2 separate regions of the Homo sapiens genome follow, and region 1 is linked to region 2. The links are contacts of gene promoters, found by promoter capture Hi-C in human tissues and cell types (Jung and others, 2019). All regions are on one chromosome and are shown on one strand. The core of a region is centred on a gene start or on the middle of the fragment in contact, and the rest is flanking DNA. Distances in the headings are between cores, read along the strand shown. Region 1 overlaps GRHL1 (grainyhead like transcription factor 1). Region 2 holds the start of ADAM17 (ADAM metallopeptidase domain 17).

The links. Contacts are between HindIII fragments. The study calls those that stand out against the background at their distance.
Region 1: a contact is called between a fragment that was not itself captured here and the fragment with the promoter of ADAM17 in region 2, in 1 of the 25 tissues and cell types used here (IMR-90 fibroblasts).

What each region holds. Positions count from the first base shown.
Region 1 is chr2:9,979,840-9,986,138 of GRCh38, reverse strand. GRHL1 (grainyhead like transcription factor 1) reads right to left here. Exons shown (of 16, transcript NM_198182.3): 9 at 1-15. Among named protein-coding and RNA genes, the nearest start is that of GRHL1, 31 kb to the right of the region's middle. The HindIII fragment of the contact is 8,161 bases long and covers 736-6,299 here.
Region 2 is chr2:9,552,228-9,558,096 of GRCh38, reverse strand. It overlaps ADAM17 (ADAM metallopeptidase domain 17), which reads left to right and starts at 2,267. Exons shown (of 19, transcript NM_003183.6): 1 at 2,267-2,588. The coding sequence starts at 2,492. RefSeq lists silencers at 1,343-1,637, 1,609-1,828, 2,059-2,348, 2,963-3,257. The HindIII fragment of the contact is 13,894 bases long and covers 1-5,869 here.

The sequences.
Region 1 (6,299 bases), core at 3,567-6,066, 430 kb before region 2:
CACAGAGATGAAAACCTGCCAAGGGAAGAGAAGGTTCCATAAGCAACAGGCACCAAGTCAAACCTAGCACAGCTCATGAAAATATTAACATCACTGAAATTACTCAAGTCTATTTTAAATGAGAAGCTCAGCTTCTCATTTTTTAAAAAAGGGTTTTTAAAAAGAGGTGATCAGGGGTTTATTTTAAAACTGCTTTTGGTCATAGAAATAGCAGACCTTAAAGAGGAGGAAGAGTCGGCAGCTCTGAACCTCTGCTTATGTTCCCTTCCAGAATCCCTATTTAATATCAGCTAGGACAGGGGAAGAGGCTGGTTAGCTTTCCTGATGTCATTTTCCAAAGTTACCAATAGCATAGCTCCCTCTGCAGCTGTTCTGTAACTTAGTAAAAACTTCCTAGGAATCCACCTATATTTGCGTTGACACCACCTCTTAGGATAACCTGTAGTACTCTGTGTCCTCATATTTTAGAACTTATGACATCAGTGTTCCTCTAATCCACAATTTTTATAAGATTCCAATAAAGTTCTCTCTCAATCTTTGCCCATGCAGACTAAACAGTCCTCATTTCTTTCCAGTTTGTTCTTATTAACCTTTTGGTTATCAAATCACATTGGGCCCAGTGTTCAAGGGATGATTTGTAATTTACAATTATTTCCATACTCCTTTCTAGGTATGGAAATATCAGTGCAAGGGTCTTTTATTTAAACATAACTGGATTCTTTACATGCCCAGATTAAACCTAAGACAAAAGTGGTAACGTTTGTTAATAGGCTGAGAACTTAACGATCACTAAACACCCAGGAATGTGTTCCTCATTCAAGAAGTTCCACACAGATGTGGTCAAAACTCCCTAGAATAACCCGGGAAGATGTTATGCTGGTGGGTCTATTTCCATGAGAGAAACGAAGAATCCAATTCCTTAAGCAACAGTTCTACTATTCAATCATGAAATTACTTCAGAGAAACTGTCTAAACCAGACTTTGAGCTTCTCAACCCACAGTTTCAAAAGTCTGCTTTCCTATCAGTGCCCAAGCCACCACTTCCCACAGGAGCAATTTTTTTTTTTTTTTTTGAGACAGTCTGGCTCTGTCACCCAGGCTGGAGTGTGGTGGTGTGATCTCAGCTCACTGCAACCTTTGCCTTCTGGATTCAAGCCATGCTCCCACCTCAGCCTTCCAACTAGCTGGGATCACAGGTGTGCGCCACCACGCCCAGGTAATTTTTGTATTTTTTTTTTTTTTAGAGACAGGGTTCCACTATGTTGCCCAGGCTGGTCTCCAACTCCTGAGCTCAAGCAATCCTACCATCTTGGCCTCCCAAAGTGCTGGGATTACAGGCAGGAGCTACCACACTCAGCCCACAAGAACAATATTTAAAGATGACTTCCAAGTGCAGTAGGTTAGCACCGGCTACACTCACTCCAGCTGCTAGCATGTGCCTGAGCAATGCACTAAGCCGGCGAGAACCCATCCAGGGGGATCCCCCACCTTCGAAATGGAAGGCAGGAGATGTCACACCCTTCTCTCCTGGGCTCCAAATCAGTTATCTCCCGCACATTTTCTCAAAAGTTAAAATAAGCTGAGTCACATTATGAATATGACATTGGAAGCTGCTACTTAAGAGGAACCCAGTGTACAGCAAATAAACATGTGCCATTTCCCCACTATTTTTATCACTGTGGATTTTAAAAATGTTTTTGAGCTCCCTTTCAACTAGTTTTAGAATTTACTGCGGATGCATGTGCACCACATAGTGGACATTATTGGAATTACAGTTTTTAAAACTAAGACTGGCCCATTTCAGACCCTTCAACCCCGTGAGCTGACAGGGGAAGATTCCTTCTAGCCCCTGGGTCAACAGCCAAGAATGGGTCCACCACAAGCAGCACTGGGTGTCACTGGCTGAACTAGGGCAGATGGGGAAAAATTTAAGTTATAATGGGGTTGGGGGGCAGCTATAGTAACTTTTTTTTTTTGAGATGAAGTTTTGCTCTTGTTGCCCAGGCTGGAGTGCAATGGCGCAATCTCGGCTCACAGCAACCCTGCAACCTCCGCCTCCCGGGTTCAAGCGATTCTCCTGCCCCAGCCTCCTGGGTAGCCAGGATTACAGGCTTGCACCACCACACCTGGCTAATTTTGTATTTTTAGTAGAGACAGGGTTTCACTATATTGGCCAGGCTGGTCTCGAACTCCTGACCTCATGATCCGCCCACCTCGGCCTCCCAAAGTGCTCAGATTACAGGTGTGAGTCACCACTCCCGGCCACATTTTTTTTTTTAAACACTTCAAGTACAATCTCTAAATCCACAAATCAGAGGTAAGGAGAGTCTGTGGAATGCATTCAGGTTTAAAAAAAAAAAAAGTCCATGCAAACAACTAAGCAAAGTAACCAAACCACCATATATTTTTCAATTTACAACCAATGGAAAATCCGAATTTTTTCTGTCATTCTAGGCCACGTGGCTCAATTCCTAGTTCAAAAACAGCTGCCTGGGAAAGTTCGACTTCATCCTCACGATTCCAGGAAGTGATATTCCCTTTACAAGAAGATTTCACAGTAATCCAACCCGAAACCTAACCTCCCCTTGCTTCCCAGTTTCAAGTTTCTATTCAAAAAAGAAATGAGCAGGGGCCAAATCCCAGGATCGGGGCAAACATGGAGCTTTGGCACAGCTTTGCCCATGCTGGTGTGCATTCATGATGATTTGCAGTCTCTTACTGATATACATTTCTCTCTTATTCTAAAAAATCAATTCTTCCCAAACTTGGCAGTTTTCTAAATGTATTAAAGAAAGTTGACAATGGTCCTAATTCAGCATTAAAAAAAAAATGCTACCTTGCCTAGATAAATACACAAACATCCCAGGAGAAGGTGACAAAGCTGTGAAACGTAAGCACTGCAGGCCAGGAACATGAGAGACAAGAACAGTGGGCCGAAGATGCCAAAGAGAAGATGGGGCCGGTGCTCACGATGCCCCTGCTCTTAGGAAAGGATCCCAGGTAAGAACACAGATGATCAAGGGGATATGCTGGTGTGGAGGGGACATACGTGCCGGGTTTAACCCTCAACCAAAGTCTACAAGGGGAGCCACATGCACAGCCGCTTAGGTCTGAACATCAAAGCATTTGAGCTGGCCCCTAACTAAGCACTGCGACCCAGTGCAAGGGTCCTTACCTGTCAAAGGGCAGGGTGAGTTCGTGGATCTCTAGATGACTACCTCTGGACGTCTATGATTATATACTTATATTGACAAAGGATGAATCCTATATCCATACTGTTTTTACTGGTGACAATAATTTTGTGTAATACATTTACCTATCAACTTTTTATAAGTCATATTAGTTTAAAAATACCAAGTAAGTTGCCAGTTAAAGTCATCACAATAACTACTTATGTAAAACTTAAGAATCTCATACGGCAATGGCTCTCAAAGTGTGATGCCAGGAGCATCAGCACGAGGGAACTTGTTGGAAATGAAGATCCTGGTGCCCACCCCAGACTCACTGAATCCGAAAACTCAGGGAGAGTGAAGCGGGAGGTTAACAAGCTCTCCAGCTAATTCTATGCACACTAAAGTTTCAGAATCCTGTCTGTACAACAGTGCCTCACAACTCTGACTGAATTAGAATCGCCTGGCAGGACTTTAAAACATACGGATGTCAGATGTCCTGGCTACACCCCAGAGATTCTGATTTCATTGTCCTGGAATGGGTTTGAGATGCTGGGACTGTTTTTTTTGGTGCTTCCTACCAAATTCGAGTAATTCGAGTGATTGGCCAAGATAGAAACCACTGCGGTAACGTGATTAGTCTTCTAGCTGCTTATACACTGTGATCCACAAAAGGTCTACCTTGGCTCCAAAACTCTGAGATTATTAAAGCAAGTTCCAATACATGGTTTCCTTTCCTTAAAGAGTTAAGATATTTTTATATGTATTTATATGTATGCCAGCAAGTTTTTAACATTAAACAAAATTTTTACAGAGGCATAGCCCTATCAAATAAGAATATTCATGTAATCAAAAGAAAGATCTAGGTTAAAGCCATTTTGTTCAACCCTGCTATTCAATAAGGTCATGCAAATCCTCAAATACTCAAGAGTTCTTAAGATATTAACCACAAAAATAAACAAGTACACACACATTAAACTCTCCCGCTTATTTTTATTACTCATGTTATGTTTGATTTCATAGGGATTTGCATTTGTGGATGAACTTGTGTGTTCAGCTGAAGGCTGAAGTTGTAACTCTGAACCACAGGACAAAGCATGATGTGATGTCTTCCTCACTAAATGGCAATGTCCTTGAGAAGACCCTGTCTTAATCATCTCTGTGTCTCACGCCTGGCTCATAACATATGCTTATTGCATGCTTTTAATAAAAGGAGGAAAATGCATACTGGGTAGTAAGTAAGTATAGCTAAGAATAAATAAAATGTAGATATATAAAATATCTTTTCATACCCTTATCTAAATCAGAAGCGACTATTTTTCTGTAAAGGGCCCGACATTATTTTCACATCCGTAGGTCATATGCAACTACTCGACTCTGCAGTAATAGTGTAAAAGCAGCCACGGATATGAGTGTGGTCGTGTTTCGATAAAACTTGATTTATATAAGCAGGCACCTAGCTGGCCCGCGCCTCAGAGCTGTCGTCTGCTGACCAGTGATCTAAACCATCCTCTAAGTTGCTTGGACATTAATTTATCCTTACATCATCACGATGGAGTAAATAGGGAGGAGGTGTATTTCCCTGTTTGTAATTGAGTATTTCCACTTTCCGCATAAGCGACTTCCTGGCAAGACATCCAGTGTGTGCTGTGCCCATGTGTCACTCGCCTGTGGAAACACACTGTCCCTATCAGCCCAGCCCACACTCATGGAGGGGACCAGGTAAGTTCTGAGGGAGAAGTGCAGCTTCCGGGGAGCTTTATGGTCAGGAGGGTGGCCTTCTTTAGTCTGCAACTGAACAGTTTTGTTTAATGTTAAAAAGCTGCTGGCATACACATATGGCGAGTGTAGAAACACAAGCCAGAGCTCTCCCTTGGGTCCAGTGGGAGCAACAAGATGGGCACACTTTGTTCCTCAGTTTTAACACTTCCCATGGATTCTACCTAATGGGCAGCCCCGAGTGAGCAAGACCACAGGGCTGTTCACCCAAATCCAGGTAAAACCAGGCTCGGACCATTCCTATCCTGCAGACAAATTATCACTGTGATTACAGAAAACACTCCACTATCTTTACAGAGGATGGGAAAGAGGTAAAAAGTAAGATGAATGAGCACACATCCAACTCCTCCTCTATAAAACATACAGGAATGCACGCACACTTAAAAAGCCCCATTTCAGAATCGGAGTAGGCTGAATGATTTACAACCTTCCTTCTCTAGAAAGATGTGAAGATCTCTGACATAAAACTTTAAGAATTCAAAAGATGACCTTTTCTGTTTTCATACTTCCTTCCCAATTATTTTGAGAGAAAACATTTGTATTCAAATAATTAGAACATTAATCTCAAAAGATGAGCAACTACTATTCCCACCCAAATTATTGGAAGAGAAAAAAACTAACCACAAACATAAACTGCTGAACAGGCCAAGGTGCTCTACAAGATTCCTTTTTAAATGTCTAGCCCATTTTTCTAAGGACAGTTCCTCATTCCTGACCAAGAATTTATGCACTTAGAATGTTTCAAAATATTTAATTCTTTTTTTTTTTTTGGTTTTCAAACCTCAGTTTGAAAATGAGAGGAAAACAAAATAAAATGATTTACATAATCAAAGGATTAACTGATACAGACTTTTATTCTAAATGCTCACAAGCACAGAAACCAACAAGAAATCAGATCTTGAACGAATTTATAATGATTCTTCCAGGAAGCACCGCGGCAGCCACATAAGCGCTGTTCACACCTGGCTGCGTCTGCCAAGTTAGTCCTCAAAGAGAAAACAAGGAGGAAAAAGACAAAAAAAAAACAAACCACCAAACCCAGTGTGCTCAAAACACAGATCACCATCAGAGGTTCATTTCACAGCAGGTATAGGGAAAGTAACTGAGAATCAATTTTATAAAACCCCCAACACACCCACTCCTTTCGAGCTTTTATCAACACCACAAACCAAGACACAATTCCAGTAAAGCTTGCTAACTGTCTAGTCTAAAGAGAGTAGTCAGGAACGTGAACTTTAACAAGTGAATTTAATTTGTGGAGAGAAATTATAGAAATATTTTTAAATCTCCTAATTCACAGAAAAGAATGCATGAACAAAGCACTTGGAGTCCATGAGTCAAAAGTTACAA
Region 2 (5,869 bases), core at 1,018-3,517:
CTGAAAATACAAAAATTAGCTGGGCATGGTGGCGCACAACTGTAGTCCCACCTACTTGGGAGGCTGAGGCAGGAGAATCCCTTGAACCTGGGAGGCAGAAGCTGCAGTGAGCCAAGATCATGCCACTGCACTCCAGCCTGGCAACAGAGCAAGACTCCGTCTCAAAAAAAAAAAAAAAAAAAAAAAAAGATAAACTAATTAATCTATCCAGTGCCCCTCTTACCATATTCCTTTGGCTCTTTATCTCCCCCACGTGGTGCTCTTTTATCTTAAAAGTATGCACAATTGATAAATGAAAGATGAACTGCAAATTGGAATAATTTGGGTCCTGATTTGTGAATTGAAAAGATTACTTGAAATTTGGAATGTCCCTGGAAATCTAGGACTTCTGGTTATTCAGGCCAGGCGCGGTGGCTCACGCTTATAATCCTGGCACTTTGGGAGGCCGAGGCGGGTGGATCACCTAAGGTCAGGAGTTTGAGACCAGCCTGGCCAACGTGGTGAAATGCCATCTCTACTAAAAATACAAAAATTAGCTGGGCGTGGTGGCGGGCGCCTGTAATCCCAGTTACTTGGGAGGCTGAGACAGGAGAATCGCTTAAACCTAGGAGGTGTTCAGTCGGTTGTAGTGGGCCAAGATCACGCCATTGCACTCCAGCCTGGGCAATAAGAGCGAAACTCTTTCCCCCACCACCCCCCCCCAAAAAAAAGAAAAGAAAATGGATCGGGATTTTTTTTTTAAACGGCATTTACTAAACAGCTAAGTACCTTCTATGAGCAAGGCACTGTACAAGAGCTGTTGGGGATACCAAAATAATACAATCTACGATCTACTAAAGTTACAAGCCGGACATTATGGTGACTGGATGTTCAGAAAAGAAACCAGATGACATTATTATGGTACACCAAAAAAGCCCCCCAAAAACCGTACTCAACTGTCACATTCTTATGGAATACAATTTTTACAGATTGTATACAATTTGCATGTGAAATTCTGCTTACTTTTTGACTAGGTATGCCACTAATGGGTATGTTTAATAAAGATATTTTATACTTCAGATGTACAGACCAGGTCCGGTTAATTTTAGCCAACAATGTATTGTTGAAAAAGACGCTGATATTTTACTGCGGCAAACCACCATTAACATAAATTTTAACCACAGTTTGAGTATTTTATTAGGAATAAGCCTTGAAACTTGAATAGGACTAGTATTCCTAACAATTTACCGTTTCATAATAAAGGCTGTCTCACTCTTAAGTGGAAAACGTATTATGTCCTACTTTTATAAACTTTGGTTGAACTAAATAAAACAGCAACATGTACCCAACGTTTTTAGACTGTTTTATTCAGTACCATAAACATTCACTAAACTATACAGAGCTAAAATCATGCAAAAGATTGCAAAACAAACTGCCTTGGGAAATTTCCAGTCTAAGCTAAATGGACCAAGTATAGGATTGAATTTTAAGAAGTTGGTGGGAAGATTCCAGCTCTTGTACTCACAGGTAAGGTCCTAGGATTCTATTTGTTGAAGTGTCTGCAGACCCTCTCCCTACAGCAGGGGCGTGGAGCAAATGTGCATTCAGGAAGTGCTTATTAGTCCCCCCAAAACCTTTTTCGTGACGACAGACGGATGGAGGCCTCAGACGACTCCGGCAGTAGGACCCTGAACCAAATGCCTGAGCTGCGCTCGAAAGGCTCGTCTCGCAGGAGCTGGCGAGTGGCACGGGCTTCGGTGGCCGGGCTCGGGGCTCGGGGCTCGGGGCCCGGGGCCGGGGGGGGCGGGGGGTCCGTGCCCAGGGCACTCTGTGGCTCGATTCATGTCCCCGCCCTCCCACCTGAGCACACTGGGCAGAGAGCCTGCGGCATCGGGCCAGTCGCGCCTCCTCGTCCGCCCTGGGCAGGTCGCTGGGCCCCAGGCCGCTTTCTACAGCTCCTTTAATAAAATGGACAGCAGGGGTCCTAACCAGACGTGGGCATCAAGACAAAGGAGGCGGCCAGACGCGCTTGAGGGCCTGCTCGCTAGCTCCCGCCCCCCCATTCCGCGGTCACCCGGGGACAGAGGCCAGGCCGGACTGGGTGGAGTTGGGACTCATACGTCTGCGTCCAGGAAGGCGCCGGGCGAGCCCCAGCTAGACGTGACGGGCGGGGCCGAACACGGCAGCGGACCAGAGGCCCGCGGCGCACCGGCGTGGGGCGGGGCAAGCGGAGCCTCCCGGGATGCCGCGCGGCAGCCGGCTTCCGGCTGTGGGTGGTGCGGGGGACAGCGGCGGCCGGAAGCTGGCTGAGCCGGCCTTTGGTAACGCCACCTGCACTTCTGGGGGCGTCGAGCCTGGCGGTAGAATCTTCCCAGTAGGCGGCGCGGGAGGGAAAAGAGGATTGAGGGGCTAGGCCGGGCGGATCCCGTCCTCCCCCGATGTGAGCAGTTTTCCGAAACCCCGTCAGGCGAAGGCTGCCCAGAGAGGTGGAGTCGGTAGCGGGGCCGGGAACATGAGGCAGTCTCTCCTATTCCTGACCAGCGTGGTTCCTTTCGTGCTGGCGCCGCGACCTCCGGATGACCCGGGCTTCGGCCCCCACCAGAGACTCGGTAAAGACCCAGGGGAGTTGGCTTAGGCCGGCGCCTGGAGCGCTCGTTTGAGGGAAGAGCAGGGGAGCTGGGTCTATCAGGTGTTTGGGGGCGGGGTATTGGCGATGGTGGCGCGTCCCTAAGTTTTCAGTGTAGAAGGGGGTGTGGCTCTCGGAGTTTGGGGAAAGAATAAAGGAGATGGGCCTGTCTCTGAGTGGGAAAGGGCTACTGGACGGGCTCCATGTAGTGACTGAGCGCCTGAGAGGGGTTTGCTCCCTAGCTTTGTGTTCGGGGAGGGTGTTGGGAAAGCGGTAAGGAGTAGGGTGGCTGGATCTTGTTTGGAGAGGGAGATGTGGTCAGGGTTCTTGCCTTAGTAGGGAACAAATCTAGTGTTGTGTGTTCCTACCAGAGCCAGAAAGGAAGGGCCCAAAGCTCCAGAATTCTTCCTGGTCCTCGAAGGAGGGAACTAGAATTTCTGCTGTAGGAGGTACTTATGCAGTAATCTCGTTGGGAGGCGGAGACTGGAGTTGGAGTCTTAAGAGTTGTGTTTTTGCGAACATCCTAAGCACGTTCTTGGTTATTTCAATTGTAGCTTATTGGAGGTGCTTGGGAGATGGGGGGAGGCGGAAACCTGGTAAGCCAACTCGTGATGCTGCCACTATGAATGCTTTCCTTGCACTTTTAAACAAAGAAATTATCAAGAGTGACGAGTTTGATGAATTTAGAGGCTAGAAAGTAGAGGGTTCCTATTTCATTAGATTTTCCAGAGAGATTGGATTTTAAGGATGGAGATGCATTAAGGGATCTGAACTTTGGTGGAAGTAAGTTTGCGTGAACTTTTAGTGTATTTTAAAATCCTTTTATCTTTCAAAAATTGACGTGTAAGATACTTTAATTAGTAATAAAGTGTGAAATAATGTTTTCCCAGTGTGTGAAATTGTAGGCTTGCATGGTTGTACTGGTTCCCAAATTTCACCATGATACCATGTGTAGTATTTTTTTTCTTTATATTTAGTGGACAGAAATTGTAATGGATTGGTATGGATACTAAAGGTGTTGAGAGTGTTATCACTTGAACAGCTGTCTTATGATTCTTTCCGATTGAAATGGATTACAAGTGACTAATGAAAGGCAAGGGATCTTGTTAGGAAGTGCTGAGAAGTGGTAAGTCAGTACAAATTGAAGGACATTTTGAGGTAGGATTGTGGTTAGGATGGAGGGATAGGGTAAGGGTCTTCATTTTAAGGATAAATGTTAGTAAAAAGAATAAATATGTATTTTGAGATATTAAAATTATATTTGCACCACCCTGACACAACTGTTTCACTTATGTTATTAATCTGTTGTTCGTAGGTAAAAATAAGCATGAGTCCCAAGGAAGCATACAGTTTAAAGAGAAACATTACTTTCTAGATCAATTCATAACATTTGCAGATCGTAAGGTTTTTTAGACCATTTTTTTTTTCCAAGACAGAGTCTTGCTCTGTTGCCCAGGCTGGAGTGCAGTGGCGCGATCTCAGCTCACTGCAACCTCCGCCTCCCGGGGTTCAAGCAGTTCACCTGCCTTAGCCTCCTGAGTAGCTGGGATTACAGGCATGTGCCACCACGCCCAGCTAATTTTTGTATTCCTAGTAGAGACGGGGTTTCACCATGTTGGCCAGGCTGGTCTAGAACTCTTGACCTCGTGATCCGCCCACCTGGGCCTCCCTAAGTGCTGGGATTACAGGCATGAACCACCGCTCCTGGCCCATGTGTTTGTTTTTTATTTGCAAAATGCAGACCACCTGTGCCAGAAGAATGCATAGACTTTTCTTTTTTCTTTTCTTTTCTTTTTCTTTCTTTTTTTTTTTTTTTGAGGCAGTGTTTTGCTCTTGTTGCCCAGGCTGGAGTGCAATGGCGTCATCTCAGCTCACCACAACCTCCGCCTCCCGGGTTCAAGCAATTCTCCTGCCTCAGCCTCCCAAGTAGCTGGGATTACAGGCATGTGCCACCACGTCCGGCTAATTTTTTGTATTTTTAGTAGAGATGGGGTTTCTCCATGTTATTCAGGCTGGTCTCGAACTCCTGACCTCAGGTGATCAGCACACCTCGGCCTCCCAAAGTGCTGGGATTAAAGGCTTGAGCCACCAGGCCCGGCCTCTTTTTTTTTTTTTAAACGAAATATTTGAAGGACACACAAGTATTATACGTGGCATTGGAAATACAAAGATCAGACGATATCCATCTTCAAATGGTTATAGCATAGGGAAATAGACATTCATTTAGGACACTTCTAAAACAGCATAGAGGAGAGTGCTAGAGTACGTTATAGCAAGTGTTATCACCAAATGAATCTTAGAGATCAAGTCTAGTTTTCAAATAAAGGAGGAGGAAAATGAGTCTCAGGAAGATGCTGTCAGTTGTCAATGATGAACATAGGCCTTGTGGGTATTTTTCTTTTGAAGAATGACTTTTTTTTTCAGTTTGTTTGACAGCTTACAATATAATTTGTTACTTAACCTTACCATTAGATTGAGTTGGTCAAGACTAGCAAATAGTTTCATAGTTGAAAAACATGCTTTATTATTTATTTTTTATGTTTATTGTCCTACAAATACTACTATATTGCAGTACTCAATATCGATTAGGCATATGACAACATTTTTCTGAAAGGCAAAAAATACCTAATAAAATGAAGCCTGGTTTTTAGAGTCCTCTATGGGTCACCAAAAATGATTTCAATTGAACTGTTATGAATTGCATAATTTAGGAAAGTTATGAGTCATATGAGCTTAGTCATGATGATATCTTGTTGAAGTTGCAGCTGGGGTGTATAAGTCTCACTTTGATTTCAAAATCGTTTTCCCTTTGTGTTACTTTTAATAAAAGAGGATGTAGTGGGTGGGAGGAAAAAATATAGGTCACAGATGAGGGATGAGAAAGTTTGTATCTGAAACATGTATTTTCAAATTTACCTTGAGGTTATTGGCATGGGGATTCTCCATATTGCAGTGCTGATTTCATTATTGACAGCACCATTTTACTCAGTATTTTGACATCTGGCTTTCTCTTTTGATGTTAATTTTGCTTACTGGCTGCATTCCTTTGAAACCTAAATGCTTAACTGCCCTAACTGCTCCAAGGGAGATTTAATGTAACTCTGCTTTATATTAGTCTAAGAGATAAACCATATTTCAAGAGTAGAATGGAGAGGAATTAAGCAGATAATTGTGATGGGGAAACTGGAGAGATCCTTTTGACTTTCACAGGATTTCCTAGAACATTAAATATAGGTTTCCTCCAAGGCCAATTGTGGTTGATTT